2 separate regions of the Homo sapiens genome follow, and region 1 is linked to region 2. The links are contacts of gene promoters, found by promoter capture Hi-C in blood cells and fetal thymus (Javierre and others, 2016). All regions are on one chromosome and are shown on one strand. The core of a region is centred on a gene start or on the middle of the fragment in contact, and the rest is flanking DNA. Distances in the headings are between cores, read along the strand shown.

Region 1 (6,214 bases), core at 268-2,767, 100 kb before region 2:
CCTTTGCTTCTAATATTACAGCCCAGTCCTAGTGAGCAGTCTTCCTTCAGGCATCACCTGTAAACATTCTTGTCATTCTACTCAAATGCCATCTCTTCAGGAAATCTCCCTGCTTCCTCTACTATATTCCCATATAATCTGTATAGTATAGCAATCACTTGTGGTTACAGTTAGGTGTATATATTTGTTGCTTCAACTAAATACTGAAGCACTGAAACAACTATATAACATGCAATTTGTTACTGCTAGCATAATACATGGGTGCATAATAGGTGCTTGACAAACATTTGCTGAATTCATGAATGTACGAATGTACATGACCTACAAATGAAAAAGCTAAACAAAATGTAAAAGGAATTAATGAAACTGGGAATTATGGAAGAATAATTGAGAAATAAATTTAAACAAGAAAGGAAAAATAGGGAAATTTTTATATAGATGTTTTAATTTAAAGACTCTAGAGCTTTAGGGAAGACACTTGGCCCAAGACAGAAGCAACTACTGCAGTTCCTCACACATAACAGCCTGTTGAATGAACAATACAACTAACTGGTTAAAACGAACTTACAGCCAGGCATATCCCAGCACTTTGGGAGGCTGAGGTGGGAGGGTGGCTTGAGCCCAAGAGTTCAAGACCAGTCATAGTGAGACCCCGTCTCTTAAAAAAATGTAAAACTTAGCCAGGCATGGTGACGCATACCTGTAGTCCTAGCTACTCTGAAAGCTAAGGTGGGAGGACTGTTTGAGCCTGGGAAGTCAAGGCTGCAGTGAGCCGTGATGGTGCCACTACACTCTAGCCTGGGTGATAGAGTAAGACCCTGTCTCAAACAAACAAACAAACATAGAAACAATAAAATAAACAAAACACTGAACACCTATCTGTGCCAATACTATGTGAAACACATACTTAGGCAAGACCCTCATCTGATTTTGGGAAGCAAAGAGTAAATGGGAAAAGCCAATGCATGCTGGGAGTCACTGCAGCCAGGGACTTGTTTGGAAAGTAATTTGTATTGCTGCAGATGGGAGTCATTTGAATGGTACCTCATGAAATGGGCCAGGCTGGGACTGGGGGATGGCTGGGGTGAGGTGTGGCCAGGTCCCTGACACATTCTGAGGAAGTGGAACTAATCCCAGTGTTTTCATTCAGCCTTTGGTTATATTTGACAGACAGCACAATGCTTGCATGGGGCTTGTAATGGTTCAAGAAACTGAACTAAGCAGAGCCATCAACTCATAGACAGAAAGCTTGGTTTTTGCTACATGCCCAACCATTGCTAATACTCTTTTCCAAAGACATAGAGAAGTAATTTTCAGTATGCAAACATTTAAATTTTACCTTTGCTGTTCTGAATTATAGATACCAAATGGCATACCACCATAAACAGATGATGGCACAGCTCTTCCAGCTAGCATGCTGGTGATTTCATAGTGAAAATATTGTTTGTTTCACTAAAGCCTGCTTGAAAATTTTGAAAGCAAAACAACTCTTATCCACTGAGGACTATGCCTAAGTATAGCTAATGGTTTTAATCTACCCTCCAAAAAAGAAGAAAAAAAAAACCCCACTCCTCTGTAATTTAAGCACATATTCAGAAAAAAATGCTAAGAATGAAATAAAGCACCCATAATCTTTGAACCTCATATATTAGTTTAAGAATGATACTTGTGAGATAGAGTTAAAACCTACAAGATTCCTGTAAGCATTTACAAATATGCTATAAGTGAATGAAACAGAAAATAATCAAACCAATACATACCGACAGATTAATAGGTACAAAGCTTGCACTAGGTTACACAGTAAAGCAGTCCAACAATACAAAGGATGTTCTCTTCAGGAAGTAAAGATAAATGCATGTTGACTGAATAAAGTTATATTAAACACTAACTTTTCTGTTTGTTACAAAGGCTTTTTATAGGGTAGTCTACATGAATATTCTTCTGCTGAATATGTTTAACTCTATACTAGTGTATATCACCACCACCCAGCCATGCTTGTACAATTTGATCTTGATCCCACAGATAATAATTGATGAGACCAAGGATGGACACATGACCCAAGACGACCCAATCAGACTGTCTTGGAGAAACTTCACATTGAGAATCCGACCACCAGTCTGGGAAGTTGCTTAAACTGAAGACATATAGATGCATCATTTTGCCATGTGCCTGTCAAACACAGTGAAAGCTGTTCTGCAGAAGACAACACCTTTTGGGAGAGGAGAGTAAAGTAGACTTACAGAAAGTGGTGAGGCTAAGAGAACACAAGACCTCAGAAAAAGAAAGCAAGATAGAGAATCTGAAGACTCGGTGGGCCACAAGAGTATCCCCATTCCTCTTCCCAGGCCCTAGGGAGTCGTTCTACTCTTCCTGCCCTTTGAGAGCAGGATATTCTTCAGTGCCCTTCCAATACATTCCCTTGCGTACTAGGGCTTATTTGAAGTGTTGTTTCTATTACTTGCCACCAAAAAGAATCTTAACAATACAACAGTCCCCTTTTTCTATTCCATTACATAGTGACAATGAGGAATATGGAATGGGGTTGGGTGTCTTTTTTTTTTTTCCAGAAAGGACACCGTTATTGAACACAGATAATAAAAGAGAGGGCAGAATCAGGCTCCACATTATTTTTTCTTTACCTTTTGTCAATCTCCAGGGCCCTAAGCAATTATTTTAGTGAATTTTTCAGTTTTACACTTGTTATCTTGGGAAGAGGATCACTGACCTCTTCATTCTGTTCTATCTGGATGTCCCACAATTGACTTTTTAAATTGTTTTAAAATTATTTTTTTCCTTTTTGCTTTCTTTATCAGCTTTTTAAAACTGTGTCTTTGGGCCAGGTGTGGTAGTTCATGCCTGTAATGCCAGCACTTTGGCAGGCCAAGGCAGGCAGGTCACCTGAGCTCAGGAGTTCGAGACCAGCCTGGGCAACACGGCAAAACCCCAACTTTACAAAAAAAATACAAAAAAATTAGCCGGGCATGGTGGCATGTGCCTGTAGTCTCAGCTACTTGGGAGGCGGAGGTGGGAGGATTACTTGAGCCCAGGAGGTTGAGGCTTCAGTGAGCCAAGATCATGCCACTGCACTCCAGCCTGAGTGACAAAGGGAGATCCTGTCTCAAAACAAAACAAAACAAAACAAAACAAAACAAAACAAAACACCACCAAGTGTTTTTCCCCTGTGTTAGCTGAAAAGTCACATACCTTATTTTTGTTAAGGGGTTACCTTAGACATTTTATCATCTATACTCATCAAAGTCTAAACAAATGGATGTCTCAGTCCTCCTCTTGAACACAAGAATTCAGAACATTTTAATTTCAAGCAACCTTGTATTACTGTGTATTTTTGAATGCTAGCTTAAAAAGCCTCTCATATGACATCATTATGATTATGTTATACAGTCACTGTTTGACATATTTACCTTATTCTTTGCTTTTTATTCCTTCTTGCACCTCAAACCTTCCTTCTTGGATCATTTTCCTTCTACTTGGAGATGATCCTTTCATTCTAAAATGTGTGTCTATTGGAGGTAAATTCTCTCAGTTTCTATTTAATCTAACATTCTCTTTATTTCACTTTCATTCTGAAAGACAGTATTTGCTGGGTATAGGAAGTATGCTATTATTTTCTCTGAGAGTAACGAAGCTACCACTGCTTCCTGGTTTCCATTGCTGCTGTTGAAGGATCAGAGTTTGCCAATATAGCCAATCCATTCCTTTGGATGCTTCAAAGATCTTCGTTTCATCTTTGGTCACTGCAGTTCCATTAAATTATATTTAGGTGTGAGTTTCTTTATATATATATATTTTGGATCTTATTTGGTTTCTTGACACAGATTTTTATAATGCATAAACTATAATGTATGTCTTATAGAATGCAGAAAAAAACACAAAATGTAATATGGCTTAACAGAATCTTGCCAACACCCCAGAAGTACCCTGGCATTCCTCTTCCCCATCATATACCTCTCGTTTTCTGCTAAAGTAGTAAGTATCTTGATATTTATGTACTTATTTTTAAAAGACAGGGTCTCTCACAGTGCAATCAAACTAGAACTCAGGATTAAGAATCTCACTCAAAACCGCTCAACTACATGGAAACTGAACAACCTGCTCCTGAATGACTAATGGGTACATAACGAAATGAAGGCAGAAATAAAGATGTTCTTTGAAACCAACGAGAATAAAGACACAACATACCAGAATCTCTGGGACACATTCAAAGCAGTGTGTAGAGGGAAATTTATAGCACTAAATGCCCACAAGAGAAAGCAGGAAAGATCCAAAATTGACACCCTAACATCACAATTAAAAGAACTAGAAAAGCAAGAGCAAACACATTCAAAAGCTAGCAGAAGGCAAGAAATAACTAAAATCAGAGCAGAACTGAAGGAAATAGACACACAAAAAACCCTTCAAAAATTAACGAATCCAGGAGCTGGTTTTTTGAAAAGATCAACAAAATTGATAGACCGCTAGCAAGACTAATAAAGAAAAAAAGAGAGAAGAATCAAATAGATGCAATAAAAAATGATAAAGGGGATATCACCACCGATCCCACAGAAATACAAACTACCATCAGAGAATACTGCAAACACCTCTATGCAAATAAACTAGAAAATCTAGAAGAAATGGATAAATTCCTTGACACATACACTCTCCCAAGACTGAACCAGGAGGAAGTTGAATCTCTGAATAGACCAATAACAGGAGCTGAAATTGTGGCAATAATCAATAGCTTACCAACCAAAAAGAGTCCAGGACCAGATGGATTCACAGCCGAATTCTACCAGAGCTACAAGGAGGAACTGGTACCATTCCTTCTGAAACTATTCCAATCAACAGAAAAAGAGGGAATCCTCCCTAACTCTTTTTATGAGGCTAGCATCATCCTGATACCAAAGCCGGGCAGAGACACAACCAAAAAAGAGAATTTTAGACCAATATCCTTGATGAACATTGATGCAAAAATCCTCAATAAAATACTGGCAAACCGAATCCAGCAGCACATGAAAAAGCTTATCCACCATGATCAAGTGGGCTTCATCCCTGGGATGCAAGGCTGGTTCAATACAAGCAAATCAATAAATGTAATCCAGCATATAAACAGAACCAAAGACAAAAACCACATGATTATCTCAATAGATGCAGAAAAGGCCTTTGACAAAATTCAACAACCCTTCATGCTAAAAACTCTCAATAAATTAGGTATTGATGGGACGTATCTCAAAATAATAAGAGCTATCTATGACAAACCCACAGCCAATATCATACTGAATGGGCAAAAACTGGAAGCACTCCCTTTGAAAACTGGCACAAGACAGGGATGCCCTCTCTCACCACTCCTATTCAACATAGTATTGGAAGTTCTGGCCAGGGCAATTAGGCAGGAGAAGGAAATAAAGGGTATTCAATTAGGAAAAGAGGAAGTCAAATTGTCCCTGTTTACAGATGACATGATTGTATATCTAGAAAACCCCATTGTCTCAGCCCAAAATCTCCTTAAGCTGATAAGCAACTTCAGCAAAGTGTCAGGATACAAAATCAATGTACAAAAATCACAAGCATTCTTATACACCAATAACAGACAAACAGAGAGCCAAATCATGAGTGAACTCCCATTCACAATTGCTTCAAAGAAAATAAAATACCTTGGAATCCAACTTACAAGGGATGTGAAGGACCTCTTCAAGGAGAACTACAAACCACTGCTCAACGAAATAAAAGAGGATACAAACAAATGGAAGAACATTCCATGCTCATGGGTAGGAAGAATCAATATCGTGAAAATGGCCATACTGCCCAAGGTAATTTATAGATTCAATGCCATCCCCATCAAGCTACCAATGACTTTCTTCACAGAATTGGAAAAAACTACTTTAAAGTTCATATGGAACCAAAAAAGAGCCCTCATCGCCAAGTCAATCCTAAGCCAAAAGAACAAAGCTGGAGGCATCACACTACCTGACTTCAAACTATACTACAAGGCTACAGTAACCAAAACAGCATGGTACTGGTACCAAAACAGAGATATAGATCAATGGAACAGAACAGAGCCCTCAGAAATAATGCTGCATATCTACAACTATCTGATCTTTGACAAACCTGAGAAAAACAAGCAATGGGGAAAGGATTCCCTATTTAATAAATGGTGCTGGGAAAACTGGCTAGCCGTATGTAGAAAGCTGAAACTGGATCCCTTCCTTACACCTTA
Region 2 (6,693 bases), core at 2,600-5,099:
GAAACCGAAGTGCCTAGTCCACCATGAGGGACACTTGAACATTAAAACTCATGAAATCTTAATCACTTATCCCTTCACAGAAGCTTTTTTAAGCATCTACTATACAAAAAACCCTATGTTATGCATATTTACATCCTAGAATTCAGTGGCCTAGAACATTCTTAAAGTGGGTGTTTGCATGGCACGGCTAACTCCCTCACAGCCCTCAGGTCTTGTGACTGTCACCTGACAGGGAGGGCACCCTTGACACCCCCACCCCTATCCTGCTTCTCTCCATAGCACTTACACTATTTGTTGAATGAATGGATTGGTGGACGGCCTTTCTTGTAGCTACTACTATAAAAGAACATTGTACAATCTATTCCAATTCATTTAGAATGTGAAGGACACCACAGACTGGCAAAAGAACATCAGAAAATTCAAACTGCCTACTTTTTTGGCAGGTGTGTGTGTGCCCCACAATATACTCCTGACACATGCTGCTCCTATAGCTCCTGCCTCACCTATCAAACCTTTTCATTTGGGCTGTGTGCAGGTGGTTCCCACCTGTAATCTCAGCACTTTGGGGGGCCGAGATGGGAGGATTGCTTTAGCCCAGGAGTTTGAGGTATGATTGTACCACTGCACTCCAGCATGGGTGACAGAGTGAGACTCTGTCAATCAATCAATCTTTTATTTGCATGAGACAGTTTCCAAGGTCCTCCCCTGTTCTTATTTGTGTTTGGACTTTGACCACTGTTGTCCATGTCTAGACCAGGAGAAGTTCTAGAAAGGGTGTGAGAAATCATACGAGAGCTTAGATTAGGCAATTTATTTTTATTTTCACGATGGTTAGCATATATAAGGCCAAAGGAAAATAAATTTGCATTAAAGTTCCTTTTATGGCAATCAATATTTTTATTCATAAACTGTCAGTACTGAGAATATTACTTTTTCAATTTTGTAATTTATCTTTGTGTTTGCAACATGTAAATTACTTGTGATTCCTAAATATACTGTTATAATGCAACTAGTTCTTCAATATTTAGACTAAGGCTCAATGAGGCAAAAATAAAACAATTTAAAAAGCATGGAGAAAAGAACTAGGTCCCCTCCATAGGACCCCTTTAGGAAACAAAAATGGAAGATTTTTCTCTTCACAATACTTGAGGGAAGAAGAGGTACACTGTTTCATTTGGAATGATAACCTGGAAAAGGGTGGAGATAAACTCCAGTTTCTTCCCAGATGGCACGTTCGTGCCTGCTGCACCATCTCTGGCAAATGTGAGGCAAAGCTTTCCATGTCACAGCCCCAAGATGGTGGAGGGTTGTGCCTGAGGCCTGCACCTTTACCACATTATCTGCAGAACAGAGTGAATAAGCCAAATATACTACCCCTAACCCCAGCATCTTATTCCAGGGCCTATTTCTTTCCCTAGGCCCTCTGACCAAAGATCGAAGCAAAATATCAGAGGAAGACTAGCTTAAGTCTCACAGTGGGGAGAAGGAAAAGTAGCTGTAACATATCTTTAGAAACACAATCTTACAGGAACTGCCTCTCAACTCTCTAGATATGGGAGGCAAAACTGCACCCAGAAAGGCCATGCAGGCAACTCGACTGAGGAGTGCCTTGGGTGGGTGACGTGGACAACATCCTGTGAGTATAGAAGAGAAAAACACAAGTCCCAGAGACAACAGTTGCCATGCAAAACCAGAAATCACAGACTGGGAAAGCCTAATTTTTAAAGAGAAGTTGAAATCTTATTTTTAAATACAGCAATTTCACCTAACAAAAATACATACACATGACCCCCAAATGACAGACTGAGGAACGTTCATAGTACCTCTCCAAAAGGTAATTAATCTAGTTGAATATATAAACAATTTGTGGCTTATTCATGTATGAGAATACTATACAGTGACAAGAATGAACTACTGTGTATCACAATGACACGAATGGATCTCAAAAGCATGTCACTGAATGAAAAAAGCCAGATGCAAAAGAGAATGCACAGTATGATTCCATTTATATAAAGTTCAGGAAATAACCTATGGTGCTGAACTCAGGCTGTGACTTGAGGAGTAAGAGGAGGGATTCTGGATGTATGAGAATGGAGTGTGAGGCTGGGATTTCTTGATTGGGGTCATTTTGTAAAAATTAATTGAGTTGTACCATTATGATATGTTTTTTTTTGGTAACATACACTTCAATAAACAGTTCAGAAACAAAACATTGTGCAGGACAAACTGAATTTGACCCAAGGGCTTCCTGTTTATGACTGTGTTCTGAAGGAATTTAGGCAAACACTAGATGCTCTGGATACAAAGATTTTAAAAATCCAGTTCATATTTTCATTATGTTCCCAATTCATCCAGTTAACAGATACATTTGCAACTGAAATATACTTGAATAAATGAGAATATGAGCATTCTAAACCAAACAGGAGGGCCGTCATTCCCTAAGGTGCTGCAGGGCTAGGATGGGGCCTGAGTTACAGAGGGCCACTAATGGGACTACCGAGCTGCCTGGAACTGTCAGCCTAGAGGTCCAAGGAGGAGTACTTTATTTAAGTGAGGGGAGGATGAACACATAGCCAGCTGCTATGCACATCTGAGGCACATGTATTCTTTAGGACTGTAGCTGCCTTGCTTAACACAATGTGTGCCATTTCTCTGGAGAGAGGGAACAAACGATGGTCAGACTCTTGATGACAGTAGAGAACAGGTCTTCTAACCCACTGGAAAAGCTCTTTGCTGGCCTCCAAATCTATACAACAGTTGGGAAGAACCATTGGGGTCACTTACAACAGTAAGTCCTTGCCACTAGGGTTAGAAAACTGTCCTCTCAGGCCGGCCATGGTGGCTCATGCCTGTAATCCCAGCACTTTGGGAGGCCGAGGCGGGCAGATCACGAGGTCAGGAGATCGAGACCATCCTGGCTAACACAATGAAACACTGTCTCTATTAAAAAACCAAAAAATTAGCCAGGCGTGGTGGCGGGCGCCTGCAGTCCCAGCTACTCGGGAGGCTGAGGCAGGAGAATGGCGTGAACCTGGGAGGCAGAGCTTGCAGTAAGCCAAGATTGCGCCACCGCACTCCAGCCTGGGTGACAGAGTGAGACTCCGTCTCAAAAAAAAAAAAAAGAAAACTGTCCTCTCTTGAAGGTCTTAGTTGATGTAGAATTGGGCAGTCTCTTGGGGATGAGTGGAAAGGGGGTACAAATAATGATTTATTTTCAGGAAATAGCATCTTCCCTGCTCTAAGTCTCCCTAAATGTCAGTGAGGCCATAGCTAATATTCTCTTGAAAAGGGAAAGTTGTATGCATCCTAAGAGGGTGTTACTTGGACATGCATGTGTGTCTGTGTTATATCACATATGTTGAGTCCAGGGAGCAGTTCATGGAGCCTCATCCATAGTTTCCCTGACATGCTATAGCAGTGCTAAAAGCTTAAAAAAAAAAAAAAGTCTGGAGAAGTATGCATAATGCAATAGCTACAGTCATTAGAAGAAAAAAAAAGTATGGTTCTTTCTCAGGTACATCTGAAGTTTGGGTATATACTTCAGTAATGTTGGTATCCTTTATTCAGATTGATAAATATTTTATTAGTCTATACAGGTTGAGTAATTTTTGAAATTGTAATTTACAAATATTCATTCACTTAAGAATCTAATATTTTTAAAACTAGGTATTTCTTGAATGACTCCGACTGCACTTTCAATGGCCAGTTGCCATGCATTATTAAACTTTCTTTTTTTTTCTTCTTCAGAATCTTCCAGTAGACGTCTAGAGTTTAGCTAGAAGTCTTGGCTACGATACAAACAGTGATGGAAAACACATGAGCAGTAACAAGTTTTAATCTTGCTCCTCAGTACTAACATGGACTAATCTGTGGGAGCAGTTTATTCCAGTATCACCCAGGGTGCAGCCACACCAGGACTGTGTTGAAGGGTGTTTTTTTTCTTTTAAATGTAATACCTCCTCATCTTTTCTTCTTACACAGTGTCTGAGAACATTTACATTATAGATAAGTAGTACATGGTGGATAACTTCTACTTTTAGGAGGACTACTCTCTTCTGACAGGTATGTTTCATGTCTATCTTACAAGTATCGATGTATACTTTACAGTCAATACTAAGGAGACATTAATGTTATTAATAAATGCTTATAAATAATAGGATAAAGTCCAAAGTTTATCTCTATAATTTCTTAAAAATCAGCATTTAAATACAAACCTAAATTTGTACCTAAAATTATTCTAGTTTTATGTCTTACCTATAATGAATGTATTTTAAATATAATTATGTGACTTTTTTTTTCAGCTAAGTGAAAACCTGTCATTATGCCTTACCATAAATGTTAACATGATTGATTTTAAAAGTCATCTAAATAAACATCTTGTATGTTTATCTAGGAAAATAACATTGCTATAATAATGATCATGAAGTTTGGGGATATCACAGCTATATTAAATGAAACAGTAAATATATTTTTCAATATTTAAAATATTTTCTAATGTGTATTTAAAATGTGTGAATTACTGAAATGTCAATTTTACTTATACATTTGAATATTCATTTTTTTCCTTGATAAATGTCTTCCTTATTATAATGAAATGGCACTGAAAAGTTCAAATGGAAATCTATTCAATTCCAAGAAAGAATACTTATCAGCAATAGTTTAGCTAGCACTATATTCAATATGAAAGATTAGGAAATTTTCACAGCATGTATACAGTCAGAATTTAACACTTTCAAAGATTTCCTTTGTCTACTCCCAAAGTAAATTTCTGATTAAATTTTAGATTAAAAAATTTAAGCAATGTATTCAATATTCTACTCCCTAGTAATCTAAATAGCGCACAGCATTCTTTCATGTTAATCTATTCAGAGGTGTGGCACCCAGGAAACAGTGGCCACATGGTGTAGGGACTGAGTCATAAAGAACCTGAGGGGGTTGTATTTCCCTAAAAATAAAGTTGTTTAAATCCAAGAATCAAGCTGTTAAAAGAAAGAAATGAAAAAAGAAAGAAAAATCGAGCACAAGCCCACACACATAAAAGGATCCTGATGTTTTTAGTTTGTTTTTTGGCATTAAGGAGTATAGTGTAGTAGTGGAAAGAACAGAGGATATATAGTCTTCTGTTACAACTAACTACTCAATTAAAAACAAATATTCTGATAACTGATCTGAGGTTTGAGACAAAAACAATTAACTTTACAAGCACAAGTCTTGAGGCACTGTGGGAAACATCATAAAAATGGAGAGGCAGTAGATTTTGTTTTTTAAGACAGTAGCTTGATTGCTAGACATGTGGAGAAATTAATGAAGGGCAAAATTAGTATAAAAGGAAGAACAGCTAGAATGCTTTGTCAGAATGCTAGTTATACTTCTAAGGTAAAATTAACTACTTTTTAAGGAAAGTGCTATCTTTATCAGTATCCATGAACAAATGGTACTGTGAATAAGTTTCCAAATGCATGTTGGACTTTTAACTCATTTGTTAGCTTACAAGACTATGCCTTGATTACATCTGAATTTGGTTTGGATTCCTTCGGTGAAATATATGGAGTATGTTATATCACATTTATATGCTGAAATCTGCTACTGGTACCTGTGAACTGATAGGCATGTTTAAACCCAGGGGAAAAGTTGCCAAGCGGGCCTTTAAACATGGGATTTAAAAGCACAGTGACTTATTTACCTAATAATAGTGTCTGAGAGGAAATACCATTTCACTTAGATAAACTTTCTAAGTTTGTAGACCAGTTAAATGGAAACAAGAAAGCTTATGTGCTTCTTAAGCTTTATTTCCAGTCCATATGTTATGAACTCTTTTAAGAACTTGGCCAAACCTCCTTACCTAGGCTTTTCCAGAGGAAAGTCTGTTTACTGTCTGGAAGTAACTATGAGATTAAAATCCATTTAGGAGGACATGCAGTCTAGTGCAAAGCACAACCAACAAGCAGTGAGGAAGCCAGCCCTCAGCTCCACCACCTCCAGCCAGTTCTGGACGCTCACTGCCTCTGCTTTTTCTCAGTAAAAGAGGGCCATGGGGGGAAAGTCTCAAAGACCTCTCTTAGCTCTAGGCTACTATGATTTATTAGTAATAGCAGTAGCACTGGAAGAATACTCCAAACACTACTCTGATTAAGAGAGACTTGAAACCAAAATCCAAAGCTTTCCATGAGTGGAAAACACTGGCAAAACTGGTCTAAATCAGGGAAATATTGAGTATTCCTGAGAAGAAGATTTAATATTTTTAAAGGGTTTAAAAATAGAGTAACCTGAATACTGCCAAAACTAATAAAACAGAGGTTGTACCTCATTAATAAACTCAAAATAAAACAGCCAAAAGTCATATCATTTTAAATGACATATAATATTCTCTACATTCTTTCTGAATAATAAGAAAAAAATACTGCTATCTAGGGTTCTCTCCTAGACATTCCATTATTTTCCTATTGGTAAACAGTTGCACACTGAACTGGGGGAGGTTTAGGACCTATACTTGATTGTACTTATTAACAAAGCAGTGGAAGAGACCCAGCAAGAGACTCAGGTAAAGAGTGTAAATAATGAATTCCTCATGGTATCAAGGTTGGCCTGACTTTTTTCTTTGCAAGCAACCAGGATACACAAATGCAAAAGATTAGATTAATTGTAAAAGGCTAACAGAAGACAGAACTAGCAGAGAGAAATGAATTTTCCAGA

The links. The method cuts DNA at HindIII sites, captures the fragments that hold promoters and counts their contacts. A CHiCAGO score of 5 or more calls a contact.
Region 1: a contact is called between a fragment that was not itself captured here and the fragment with the promoter of ASPN in region 2, in 1 of 17 cell types (megakaryocytes). The highest score is 5.2, in megakaryocytes.

What each region holds. Positions count from the first base shown.
Region 1 is chr9:92,578,978-92,585,191 of GRCh38, reverse strand. All of the region lies in intron 5 of CENPP (centromere protein P), which reads right to left. Among named protein-coding and RNA genes, the nearest start is that of ECM2, 46 kb to the right of the region's middle. The HindIII fragment of the contact is 534 bases long and covers 1,251-1,784 here.
Region 2 is chr9:92,479,662-92,486,354 of GRCh38, reverse strand. ASPN (asporin) reads left to right here and starts at 3,849. Exons shown (of 8, transcript NM_017680.6): 1 at 3,849-4,062. The region is part of intron 5 of CENPP (centromere protein P); the gene reads right to left. The HindIII fragment of the contact is 2,340 bases long and covers 3,430-5,769 here.